Linked DNA regions of Homo sapiens: all the other regions are linked to region 1. The links are contacts of gene promoters, found by promoter capture Hi-C in blood cells and fetal thymus (Javierre and others, 2016). All regions are on one chromosome and are shown on one strand. Each heading gives the region's core, a stretch centred on a gene start or on the middle of the fragment in contact. The rest is flanking DNA. Distances are from core to core; before and after follow the strand shown. Region 1 holds the start of MANEA (mannosidase endo-alpha). Region 2 holds the start of PRDM13 (PR/SET domain 13). Region 3 overlaps PNISR (PNN interacting serine and arginine rich protein). Region 4 holds the start of POU3F2 (POU class 3 homeobox 2).

Evidence for each region. Contacts are between HindIII fragments. The CHiCAGO score rates a contact against its expected background, and 5 or more counts as called.
Region 2: a contact is called between the fragment with the promoter of PRDM13 here and the fragment with the promoter of MANEA in region 1, in 1 of 17 cell types (non-activated CD4 T cells). The highest score is 6.6, in non-activated CD4 T cells.
Region 3: a fragment that was not itself captured here is called in contact with the fragment with the promoter of MANEA in region 1 in 1 of 17 cell types (fetal thymus); the score reaches 5.2 in fetal thymus.
Region 4: a contact is called between the fragment with the promoter of POU3F2 here and the fragment with the promoter of MANEA in region 1, in 3 of 17 cell types (total B cells, non-activated CD4 T cells and naive CD8 T cells). The highest score is 11.5, in total B cells.

Annotation. Positions count from the first base shown.
Region 1 is chr6:95,576,054-95,579,056 of GRCh38, reverse strand. It overlaps MANEA (mannosidase endo-alpha), which reads right to left and starts at 1,522. Exons shown (of 5, transcript NM_024641.4): 1 at 1,419-1,522. It overlaps MANEA-DT (MANEA divergent transcript), which reads left to right and starts at 1,606. Exons shown (of 3, transcript NR_104136.1): 1 at 1,606-1,964. RefSeq lists enhancers at 923-1,022, 486-1,426 and silencers at 1,223-1,282, 1,563-1,652, 1,703-1,782. The HindIII fragment of the contact is 3,606 bases long and covers 1-2,890 here.
Region 2 is chr6:99,605,583-99,608,585 of GRCh38, reverse strand. PRDM13 (PR/SET domain 13) reads right to left here and starts at 1,753. Exons shown (of 4, transcript NM_021620.4): 1 at 1,408-1,753. The coding sequence starts at 1,551. The HindIII fragment of the contact is 6,161 bases long and covers 362-3,003 here.
Region 3 is chr6:99,421,455-99,424,457 of GRCh38, reverse strand. All of the region lies in intron 1 of PNISR (PNN interacting serine and arginine rich protein), which reads left to right. Among named protein-coding and RNA genes, the nearest start is that of PNISR-AS1, 1.9 kb to the left of the region's middle. The HindIII fragment of the contact is 3,652 bases long and covers 1-3,003 here.
Region 4 is chr6:98,832,957-98,835,959 of GRCh38, reverse strand. POU3F2 (POU class 3 homeobox 2) reads right to left here and starts at 1,386. Exons shown (of 1, transcript NM_005604.4): 1 at 1-1,386. The coding sequence starts at 1,086. RefSeq lists enhancers at 1-72, 73-669, 668-737 and a silencer at 1,376-1,445. The HindIII fragment of the contact is 14,703 bases long and covers 1-3,003 here.

The DNA.
Region 1 (3,003 bases), core at 273-2,772:
ATGAAGCTGAGCAGTTGGTAACTTTTTCAAAAATCTCTGGGCCAGCAAATGGCCAAGAAACCAATCTAAGGTTAATCACCTAGCAAGGAGCAGATCGAGTCTGGCTCAAGAACTCAAGTTCTTGTCCATGCTATTCTGCCTTCCTTTAAGGTATTAGACAAATCAAATTTAGAGGATACACCAGTTATTTTTGTGACACAAGATGAAAGCTGCTGCTATATGGTTATGTTTTCAATTAAGGATTATGTACCTAATAAACAATGATTAACTGTTACCTACTCCATAAACTGTGCCCAAACTTCATCTAAAGACAGCTTATTCTATTTTATGATCATACATTCACTATTCGTCACACGAATAACAGCAACAGCTCTGGAAATGGTGTTTTCATTGTTGTGATTTTTTGTTTTGGGGGGTGTTTTTCTGCATTGAGCCTGAAAATCCACAAATTCACAGCACTCATGTTTTTTTCAGGTGTGATACACCTGAAATAGATGTATTGTCATGAAAGTGATTTGCAAACAACGTGATACAGTATCACCAATATCTAGGTTTTACTTTATATTTTTGTTTCAAACTACTGCCTCAATACTTTAACGTGAACAGCCTATTCCAGTCCCATTTTTCTTATTTTCAAGTTCTTAATCAACATTATCCCCCCCTTGTTGTTGTTTTATAGCACTTCCACATTTTCTCCTAACACTTATCCGTAGGGTCTTACAACAACAAAACCAAACAGTTATACCTGCCTGTACTTCAAGTTGCTTCTTTGGAAAAAGGAACAACAAAAACACTAATCCAGCACTGTTGCATCCCGACTTAGCAAAGGCTAAGAGTCTAAGATGACAGTGCCAAACACGTTAACAGGTGAACTGAAAAACCATCTCTAGCGGCCTCGCCATCGGGCGGTCTCCTCCCGATGCCCAGAGGCGACAGCTACCTTTCCGTTGCACCCAGAGCCCAGCAGGCCTCGATCCTTCTACTCTCCCGGTCGGCTCAAGGCCCAGAGGCAGTCTGGGGGCACAAGGAGAAGGTGCTGAAAAAGGCTTCCATCCGACCCGAAATTTCCACCTTGTCGGGGAGACAAGGAAAATCCGAGGCGACAGGAGGTACCGTTTCAAAGAGGAGGCGGCGACGAGGCCAGTGAGGTGGGGATAAAGCAGTGTAAAAGGCAGTAAAACTAACGCAGACTAAAACAGGCCTAAGAGTGACAGCCTAGGTTAATCGAGGGGGCTACAGGCTCGCCGCTGGGCGCCACCAGCGCCTGCCAGAGGGGCGCCGGGTCAAAGGGCGCCCGGAGGAAAGCGGCCACCAGATTGGCTGGCGGGCGAGCGCGCAGGCGCCCGCGGTGGACCTCGTGCCTGCCGCCGCTGCTGGCGCCGCCGCCTCCAAGAGGTCTGACTCCTGCAGCTACTCACCAGGGTCGGGTAATTCACTTCTTGCAAGGACTCGGCCAGAGGAGAGGTTAAGACCGCGAACATAGAGCTGACTGCCGCCGCGCCCCGAGCCCAGACAGCCCCTCCTCCCCGAAGGCGCGCGCACAGCGTTCCGGGCGCTTTCAGGGGCGGGACGGGTGGGGGCGGGGTCACGGAGCGGGCGGGGCTCGGGGTCTTCCGGAGCCTCCGGTCGCGGGTCTAAGAGGACTAGGGCGGGAGCGGCGCGGAAGAAAGAGAGGACTGCGTTTTGGGGCGTTCTGTCAGAGGGGAAGGACGTGTGGATTGGAGTCAGACTGCACTCCCGCCCTATTTCTGCAAGTAGAACTCACTGCCTTTAGAAACGGTCTTCTGAGGCTCTGTTGGGAGGCTCTAACTGTATTACAGAGGACACATTTTTGTTTGTTTTTATGTGAAACATTCAGAAGTTGCTTGCATCAAGTGCTTTACAAGTACACTGGTTTTCAAACTTTTAAAGTTGAGGAACTGTTTTGATTTTTGTAAAAATAGAACTTTACTTGGAAGCCCAAGGTAGGCAGATGGAGATGGCGTTTTTAATTTGCGAATGTATTCTATAAAATCACATCTGTACTGAAGTACTAGAAATAATTGAGGATAAGTCAGATGTGAAGAGCAAGAACTTTTGAAATAGGATTACAACTGAAGGTTTCCATCTTACATTAGCTTCAGAAAACAAGAAAATGCTATCTTTTGTTTGGTTACATAGTAACAGGAAGTCCTTATTCAAGCTAGAACTTGCTGATGTGAACAGTTTCATAAGGGCTCTCCTTAAAAAGATTTTGTACACCAATTTTAATTGGGAAATATACATATGAGTATATCTCATGTGCATATCTTAAAGAAGAATGAAAAATGCCCAGGTACCCACTACAGAGCTTAAGAAAAAAAAAATGCCAGTATTTTTGGAGTCTTCTAGAAAGAAGACTCTCTAAAAACATCTCCTTCCTTCCGTTCACCATTATGCTGAATTTTATATTACTCATTCCGTTGTATTTCTGAAAATAGTTACATATGTACGATTCCCTAAAAATACTATTTTCCTAGTTTTATATTTCATATGTGAATCATTCTTCATTTTTCCCCTTTTTTCACTAATTTAGGTTTTGAGAGGTTTTGAGATTCGTCTGTATACAAGTCCATTTCCCATAAACTAGACTGGCACATCGTTACCCTTATGCTATTGTTAGACTTTTTAAGTTTTTGCTGATAAGAGCATCTGATTGCTCTTTTAATTTGCATTTTCCCTTTTGCTAAAGCCTGTTCTTAATTTTATCTCATTTTTTATTAAATTGCTTGCTTTTGAAAATTATTTTGTAGATAATATTTATTTTTTCTAGTTTAATTCTCTCTTGTAAGTTACATGTGTTGCAAATGTCTTCTCTTAGTTTATGGACTGTCTTTCCAGTTTTTATGATGTTTCTTGATTGCCAAAAGCTTTATGCTTCAGTATACAGCTTTTTGAATTTAATAATATTTTACATTTTAATTTTGTGCTTTTTGCTTTCTTGCTTACAAGATTCTTCCCAACATAACATCAGAAACTATTCTT
Region 2 (3,003 bases), core at 504-3,003, 4.0 Mb before region 1:
GACCTTGCTTCGGGGAGGGAGAAAGAGGAAAGTCTACCTATGCTAACAGTACTCCCACTTCCCTGCGCCCCACCTTGACGACACGGGGAGGGGAGAGGGGTGTTGAGAGCATCCTCCCTGAGTGCTTAGGCACATCTTGTACCAAGTTGTCCCCTACCCCAGCTCTCCCATTTGCAGTTCTGAGAGCAGCCGTAACACCACGGTAGAGACATTTCTAGGTCAGTCCCAGGGCCCAGAGCGTACCCCCGACAAACAAACAAAAAAATTATCTCATGCCTCCTGTATTCTGTGTGCATCGCACCTAGTTGCCTGTGAGCCCTGCAGCTAAAGTCTCGGAACAAAGCCCAAGCGGGGAAAAGCTTGCCCGCAGCTGGCAGGCCATTTAAAAGCAATTAAAACGCGTTTAAAGAGGAATGCGCGGTGGGCACCAAACCCCGCTTTAGACTGTAGTGGGGGGCGTGATTGCAGGAGGAGCGAGGTGCAAGTCCCGCTGGCTGGACACCGGAGCTTTTTACTAGAAAGCTCCAAGCAAGGCAAGCTAAAGCCAAGGAAGCCAAAGTCCTTTCTTCTACCCCAGACTTCTGCCTTCATTTCCCGGTCGCTGTTTGCCGACCTTTGGCTCCTGGGACGCCCCCAAAGCGGGCGAGTGCTATAAGTCTCTCTGGTCAGGGGTCGCGACGGTGTGTGGAGTGTGGGAGTCAAAGCTAGTGGTTTGGCCCTGGCGCCTCCCGGTTGGGCCTCTGGACTCTCAGAGCCCCGCTGCAGACGCTCTGACCCTGTGCCCCGCGCGAATGGGCGCGCCTCGCCCTTGGAGCCCGCGTCAGAGCCAGTACCTTGCTCATCCTCTCTCCATATGCCGCATACCCACAAGCCGACATCGGCAAGGGAAAAAAAAATATCTGAGGAGGTTCTAGGAACTGAGAGCCTCCCAAAGATTTTTTTTTTCAGGAAAAAAAATTACTTTAAGGCGAAATTAGGCCTCAAATTAACATATTGAAGGGCAGAAGGGAAGAAAGGGTCTCGATGCCCTGAGCCCCCAGAAAGAGGGTGCTTTTGCAGAGAGAGCTGCGGACAGCGTGCGGGGGTGGGCTTCTGGCTTCTGACTGAGGAGACCCGAGAGCGCAGGGGAAAACACAAGCTGCGAATGGTCCCGGCACCTACAGCGCTCAGTGCACCCCACCCAGGGCTGTCGCCTCTCGGCCACATCCTCTCCTCTCAGCCCGACCCCGTCCAGCTCTCACAGTTAAAGAGGCTACTTGCTCAGAATAATAGGAGTCCCCTTCCACCCGGCAGAATTAGCAGGTAACGACTCAATCACTCCCTTCCTCCACTTTCTCTCGTACCCCTTTCCCGGGTCAGGGCACTGAGAGGCGAATGGCAGTGGGCAGAGGTCTGAATGGTCAATACCTTTTTCTTAGGCCCGGGCTCCCTGCGGTCTGACAGGTACTTGCCCAGCTTGAAGGTACCAGGCACCGGTCCGAGGCGCAAGCCGGCCGGGATGCAGCAGTCGGCACTCACGCTGGTGGCTGGCGCTCTGGCGGCTCCGTGCATTGTTGCCGCCGCCACCAGGCAGGCGCTCGGGTGCTCCAGGTCCTTGGAAGGGCGCGAGTGACAGAGCTGGAGCTGCGCGCTAGCCAGAGAGCCGCGCCCCGACGTGCGTCCTCCGCCCGCGGAGTGACGCGGGCGGGCATGCACTGCGCCTTTTCAATCGGGGCGGGAGCCTTTTGGCACCGCTAGCGCAAGGGCGCGGAGTTTGGTGAGAGAGTTGCGCTGCGAAGCAGCTGCAGAGTCCCACCCGAGAGGGTCACATGGAGTGGTTCCCTCAGCCCCCTGCATAATCGAGGCCGCTGAATGGCTAGCACACAATGGTCCAGGCGACCTTCCCATTCCTAAAAATCCAATTTGTCAAGGGCGAAGAAAAGGCACTGGTGAATCAAAGGTCCGGCGGGACCATTAATCCTCAGCATGGGGTATTGTCCTCCAGACAGTTACGATATTTTAAGTGACAAATCCACTGTATAATTTCTCCATAAATTTTACTTCCTTTTATTGTTCCCCGACAAACCAGTTTTGGGAAATAAGTGACTACTTTAAGTCTACTTGGCTGATTCCTTTGAGCCTTGATCTACTTCAAAGATTTTTAATTCTCTCCCCTTGGCTTTATTGTAAAGGAGATTAAACAAAGAGATGGAGACTGTTTGGAGGACTTGTTAACTACTATTGATTTCTGGCGTGTGCCATACAGAAATTAGGCAGGTACTTGATGGGAAAACACCAGAAAATACCTACACTTTTTAAATAACAACCATATTACCATTTCAGGGGATTGGGTTCAGGCCAGTCGTCTATTCAGAACCGCTTTAATTCTCACTTCTGTCCCATTTCGTCCGAAAATATGATGAAGCCTCCAGACCAAGTTGAGAAGGGGAGGTCAACTGCTCATCACTTTTCTCGGGCACACCCCGGGCCTGCACTTTCTCTGGAGAATGGGAAACAGCCCCAGAACCAACAGTTTCGAATGGGGATCCTGCGCCCCGGTCCGCAGCCCAGGGTTGAAGAGGAAGAAGTTCTACCAGTGGGTTATTGATCACGTCCCCTAGAAGATGTCCTTGGACTAACTTCCCTAAAACCAGCAACCTGGACTTTTCTATTAAAAAAAAAACAGTAAACAAAAACGAAAATCACCGCAATCTGTTAAAGGTTGTAGAGAAGAGGGGCGAGGTGGGCGTTTGGGACAACTCTTTCTTACACCTACTTTGTGAACTAACAAGACGTTGTACTTCAGAGTTAAACCGGAGAGCTACCCGTTTTCTTTTAGGGAAGCCTCCAATTGGCGTGAGAACATTTATTTTCATAAATAGTAGCCAAGTAATCAAGTTCATCAGATATTTGTGATTTCTGCCGGCACCTGCCGCGTGCTGCTAGTTCTGAGCACAGCTCCCCAAATCCTATGCAGCCAGCACCGGAGCCCGATGCAGTTCTTCCAAGAGAGGCCTGAGTGGT
Region 3 (3,003 bases), core at 287-2,786, 3.8 Mb before region 1:
TAGAGAAAACAGTTCTTTAAAGATGTTCTTGAGAGTTTTTTTTTTTAACTTACTAATAGACTTTATGTTTTAGAACAGTTTTTGTTTACGTTGAGCACATACGACGTCCCCACTACACACACAGTTTATCTTCTTATTAATAGATGTTAGTATGGTACATTTGTTGCAACTAATGAACCAATAATGATAAATTATTAACTAAGGTCCATAGTTTATTCCTACTTCCTCACATTTTACCTAAAGTCCTTTTTCTGTTCCAGGATGCCAGCTAGGATATCACATTACATTTAGTTGTTGTATATTCTTAGGCTGTATATTCTTGGCTGTGACAGTTTCTCAGGCTTAACTAGTTTTTGATGACTGTTAAGGGCTGACTTGTGCCCCTCTAAAATTCGTATCTTGAAGTCCTAACCTCAGTACCCCAGAACGTGACTGTATTTGGAGAGAGGGTCTTTAAAGAAGATGAGGTCACTAGGGTGGACCTTAGCCCAATATATTAATAACTGCTGTCCTTATAAGAAGAGAGTAGGATACAGAGGGATGATCATGTGAAGACATAGGGAGAAGACAACCATCCACAAGCCAAGGAGAGAGGCCTTAGAATGAAATCAACCCCATAGAGCTTACACTATACGCCTCCAGAACAGTGAGGAAATAAATTTCTGTTGCTTAAGCCACCCAGTCTTTGGTACTTTGTTATGGCAAGCATACCAAACTAATACAGTGACCTTGACATTTTTTGAGGAGTATGGTCAGGTATATTGTAGGGTGCCCTGCTATTGGAATTTGCCAGACGATTTTCTCATGATTAAAATGGCCTTACGGACTATATCAGGGGAAGATCACAGAGGTAAGATGCCCTTTTCAACACATGCTATCAAGGATACATACTATCAAGGTGACTTATCACATTATTACTGACCTTGATCATCCTTCTGGAGTAGCGTTTGTTAGATTTATCCACTGTAAAGTTACTTCCCCCACCCCTTTTTATACTGTTCTCTTTGGAAGGAAGTCACTTTGCAGAGCCCACGCTTACTGAATGGACAGTTGTGCTCTTCCTCAGTTAGGGTGGAATATTTACATAATTTATTTGGAATTCTCTGTGGGAGATTTGTGTCTTCCCTCACATTTATTTGTTAGTTTATTTTATCATATCCTTATGGGCTTGTGGATGTTTATTACATAACTTATATTATAATCCAGTACTTCTTTATTTTGTTGCTCAAATTGTACCAGCTTTGGCCATTGGCAGCTCTTCGAGTTGTCTACTGTTCTCCTTTGACATGTTCCTATCAATTTTTTTTTTTTTAGCACTTTATTGCTTCCTGGCAGTATACATGCCCCAGACTCATCTTTTATATTTCCTGTCGCAGTCCTAGAGTCAGCTATTTCTTTAAAGATCTCTGATTCCTTTTATTGAAGAATGGTATTAAAACCAAGTTCTCGTGCCTAGGTGTGCTTGTTGCTACTAGGGTGTCATTTTGGGCGCTCTCGCTACATTTATTTTTAAATTATTATTGGGGGGGTATTTATAACCGACTCTCCAATTCTCCAGTTTTTTTTTTTTTTTTTTTTTTTGAGACAGAGTGTCACTCTGTTTCCCAGACCGGAGTGCAGTGGTGGCACAATCTTGGCTCATTGCAACCCCTGCCTCCCGGGTTCAAGTGATTCTCCTGCCTCAGCCTGCTAAGTAGCTGGGACTACAGGTATATGCCACCATGCCCAGCTAATTTCTGTATTTTCAGTAGAGTGGAGGTTTCGCCATGTTGGCCAGGCTGGTCTCGAATTCCTGGCCTCAAGTGATGAACCCACCTTGGCCTGCCAAAGTGCTGGGTTTACAGGCATGAGCCGCCATGCTTGTCCTCCACTTTTAAAATAGTCTTTTGAGCTACAAGCTGCAAGTATTTCAGTATATACTAAAATGCATGTCACATAAAGTAGCAAAATTTCTGTTTTCCGTATTTCGAATGATTACAAGATTAATTTTTACCAGTGCCATTTCCACCTAATCTGAATTAAACAAATAAATTCTTTTTTGACTTTGAGGTCAGTCAACTCATGTAAGACTGAAATGTCAGGGGTGAAGAGGATTGTTGTATTTTCTGGCTTCTCAGCTTTGTGGTTGATTTGAGAAATATTTCATCCTATGCATCAAATGATAGATGTGTTTCTGTAGCTCTTTGATTTTGTAGTTGATGCTCAAGGACTTTAAAATACCACATTTTAATTCTCATCCATCTCTGTCACAGTCTCTGAGTGACTTTTGTAAATATTAATGATTGTCATTTTGGCCACACGGGGTGGCTCATGCCTGTAGTCCCAGCACTTTGGGAGGCTGAGGAGGATGGATCATTGAGGCCAGAAGTTTGAGGATAGCCTGGGCAACATGGTGAAACTCCATCCCTACTAAAAAATACAAACATTATCCTCGCGCGGTGGCATGCACCTGTAGTCCCAGCTACTCGGGAGGCTGAGGCATGAGAATTGCTTGAACCTGGGAGGTGGAGGTTGCCGTAAGCCGAGATCACACTGCTGCATTCCAGCCTGGGCGACAGAGTGAGAATTTCTCAATAATAAATAAATGATTGTCATTTAAACAAGTTGTTTTAGGACCTCAAAGCGATGAAGTTCTAATATAGATACATTTAAGAAAAGGATAAAATAGATGATGGCCATTTCTGGTTGTATTAGTTTTCTAGGGATATTGTAGCAAATTACCACAAACTGGCTGATTTCAAACAACAGAAATTTATTCTTCCACAGTTCTGAAGGCTAACAGTGTAAAATTGAGGTTTTGGTAGGGCATGCTCTCTAATGGCTTTGTAGGGGATTCTTGTCTCTTCCTAGCTTTTGGTAGTTCTTGTCAATCCTTGATGTTCCTTGGCTTATAGAGCCATCTACTCCCAATCTGTACCACTGTGGTCATGTTACATTCTCCCTGTAAGTGTCTTATGTCTCCTTTTTAATAAGGTCCCTCCTAATCAAATATGAACTCACTGT
Region 4 (3,003 bases), core at 137-2,636, 3.3 Mb before region 1:
CTCGATGGAGGTCCGCTTTTTCCGCTTGCGCCCTTGCGCTGCGATCTTGTCTATGCTCGTGGGGCTGCCCGAGGACGAGTCCGCCTCCTCCAACCACTTGTTCAACAAAGGCTTCAGCTTGCACATGTTCTTGAAGCTCAGCTGCAGGGCCTCAAACCTGCAGATGGTGGTCTGCGAGAACACGTTGCCATACAGGGTGCCCAGAGCCAGCCCCACGTCCGCTTGGGTAAATCCCAGTTTGATCCGCCGCTGCTTGAACTGCTTGGCGAACTGCTCCAGGTCGTCCGAGGTCGGCGTGTCCTCGTCCGAGTGCGGGTCGTGGTGCGCGCCTGGGTGGCCAGGCGGACCCTGCGGGGGCGGCGGGGGCGGCGGCTGCTGGTGTGGGTGCGAGTGCGGGTGCGGGTGGTGGTCGGCATGGTGTGGCTCGTCGTGCGCGTCCCGCAGGCCGTGGTGGTGCAGACCGGCCGGCTGCCCGCCGGCGCCCAGCATGCCGTTCACCGTGAAGCTGGGCTGCGAGTAGAGCAAGCCGCCGTTGGACGCTCCCATGGAGGGTGGGAGGTGCGCTGCAGCCGCCGCGCTCCGCCATGCCCCGGGTCCCGGGTGGTGGTTAGCGGCGTGGTGCACCAGATGCGGCGGCCGCTGTTGCTGCTGCTGCTGCTGCTGTTGCTGCTGTTGCTGCTGCTGTTGCTGTTGCTGCTGCTGATGCTGCTGCTGCAGGGCGCCTGGCCCGTGCAGCTCGTCTCCGCGGCCGCCCTGCTGCACCACCACCGAGGGCTTGATGTCCGGCTGGCCCAGGGGGCTGGTGGACCACGGGGAGCCGTCGCCGCCGCCCCCGCCGCCGCCCCCGCCCCCCCCGCCGCCGCCACCGCCCCCGCCGCCGCCGCCGTGGGACAGCGCGGTGATCCACTGGTGAGCGTGGCTGAGCGGGTGTCCGTTGCTCTGCAGAGCGCCGTAGTCGCCCTGCACCAGGCTCTGCGCTTCGCGGTAGCCCCCCGCGCCCTGCTGCATGCCGCCGGGCGGCTCGGCGTGCACGATGGAGGCGCTGGAGGTGAGCAGGCTGTAGTGGTTAGACGCTGCGGTCGCCATGACTCTCGGAGCCGGACTGAGCGCTCCGGTTAAAGGAGCCGCGCATTTGACAGTTACTTTTTCGCCTCGGGCTCCCTCTCCTCGCTCGCTCTTTCTGTCTCCTCTCTCTCCCACAGCGGGCAGCTCCGACGCCCGCTCCGACGCCTTCTGTTGCTGCTCCTGCTATTACTGCTGCTGCTGCCGCCGCCGCCGCCTCCCGCCCGCCCTCGCTCTCTTTCTCCTCCTCTCCCTCCTTCTCGCTCTCGCTCACTCTCTGACTAGCTCGGCGCTCCCCCCTCTCCCTGCTCTCTCCAGCTCTCTCCCGCTCTCTTGGCAGCGCCGGCTCGCAGCGGCACGCGCCTGGGCCCCGCCCCCTCCGCCCCCTCCCATTGGCTCCGCGCCCTTTGATTTACGTGGATACCGCTAGCAACCTCCCAGGCCGGCGCCACTGATTGGCGCAGAGCTACTCCCTCCCCCTCCCCCGGGCTCGGAGTCCTCCTAGCCCTCCTCCCCGTCCCCTTCGCCTCCCGATTCAGATTCTCTCAGTTCTCACCCCCCCGCTTCTTCCTCACCCGGGGCCTCCTCCGCCCTCTCTCGGATGGGCCCCGCCCCCCATCTGTCTCCCAGGCAGAGAAGACCGGCAGGGGGGCGGTCCCGGTGCTCTTATCGGCCACAGACACTTGGAAGACTTGGATTGGGGTGGGGGGCGGGAGGCAGTGGTGTCCACTTTCGTTTCCCAATAGGGCTTTAAGATGGGGAAACGGAGGGGGTAAGGGAAAAGCTGGGTCGCACCGAGCCAGCGGGAGTCGGATTTTTATTCACCTAGGGACACACACACAGTGTGTATCTCTTAAACCTAGAGCCAAGAGCCAGACCTGTTCCCCTGTTCAACTCTCCTTGCATCCCACGGTTAGAATTTCAGTGCACAAGTGTCTCTTGCTCCAGGGTGTGCGGACACTTCGGCCCAAAGCTCTTCTCCTTCCCCTCTACCCCGCGGCTAGCACAGGCTCTCTTCCTTTTAGGTTCCAGGCCCAATTGTCTCCCACTCCCTTGGGGAAAGAACCCCGAGAGAGGCAGGCTCAGCCCGCACCGCGGCTTGTAAGTCATTCCCATCAAGGCTCGGAGTTGCTTGCTCTGACAGCGTAGCGGTCTGAACTGAAAACCAAACAAAACTCTAAAAGTCTCTCCGTCAGATTCACACGCCGGCGCGTGCAGTTTTTGGTTTAGAAAACTAGAAGCCTGCGTGGGCTCCGTCTTGTGCGAGGCTGCCGGAGTGCTGGCGAGGGGTGTGCGGCCTTGTAGGGGCGGCGCAGTCGCCAAAGGCCGCTCCGGGAAGCCGCGCGGAGGGCCTGCGTGCGCGATTCCCCGTGCTCCTACCGCTGGTAGGTGCAACTTTTCCGTTAGCCCCTTGGGAAGGAGGAAGAGTGTGTGAAGCAAATGGGCTGATGCCAGGGGAACCTTCCTAATCAGTAACTTCGGTGGGCGCTAGCGGGTGGGGTTAGTCTATGTCTTTGGCGCTCCCTGGCCAAGCTCCCAGCTCAGCTTTCAGCAGTGAACTCCAGAGCAAGACTATGGGACCATGCACCCGCAGCGCCGCTCTACGGAGCGCGGGCGCGTCGCGCCATCAGTTCTTTAGCCGCCCAGAGCAGGTGCCGCCTGCGAGTTTCCGAGCCTGCAAGCCCGGTAGCTAGAACTTGGGCGCGGACCCAGGCTGGAGCGGCGTGACCGCCACGCAGGGCCGGGTGTGTACATGGGCGCTGTAAAGCGAATCAACAGTTACTGCCGGGAAGGGAATGACAGACCCCAGGGAACCTGGATCGCGTCCCCACCTCTCACCCCTCGCTCTATCGCTGGTTTTGCCGGCGGTCGTAGGCTTGAGAGGGCAGCCAAATCAACGCTCAGAGGGAGCATTTTGGGGCCTCTGAGCATCTGAATCCA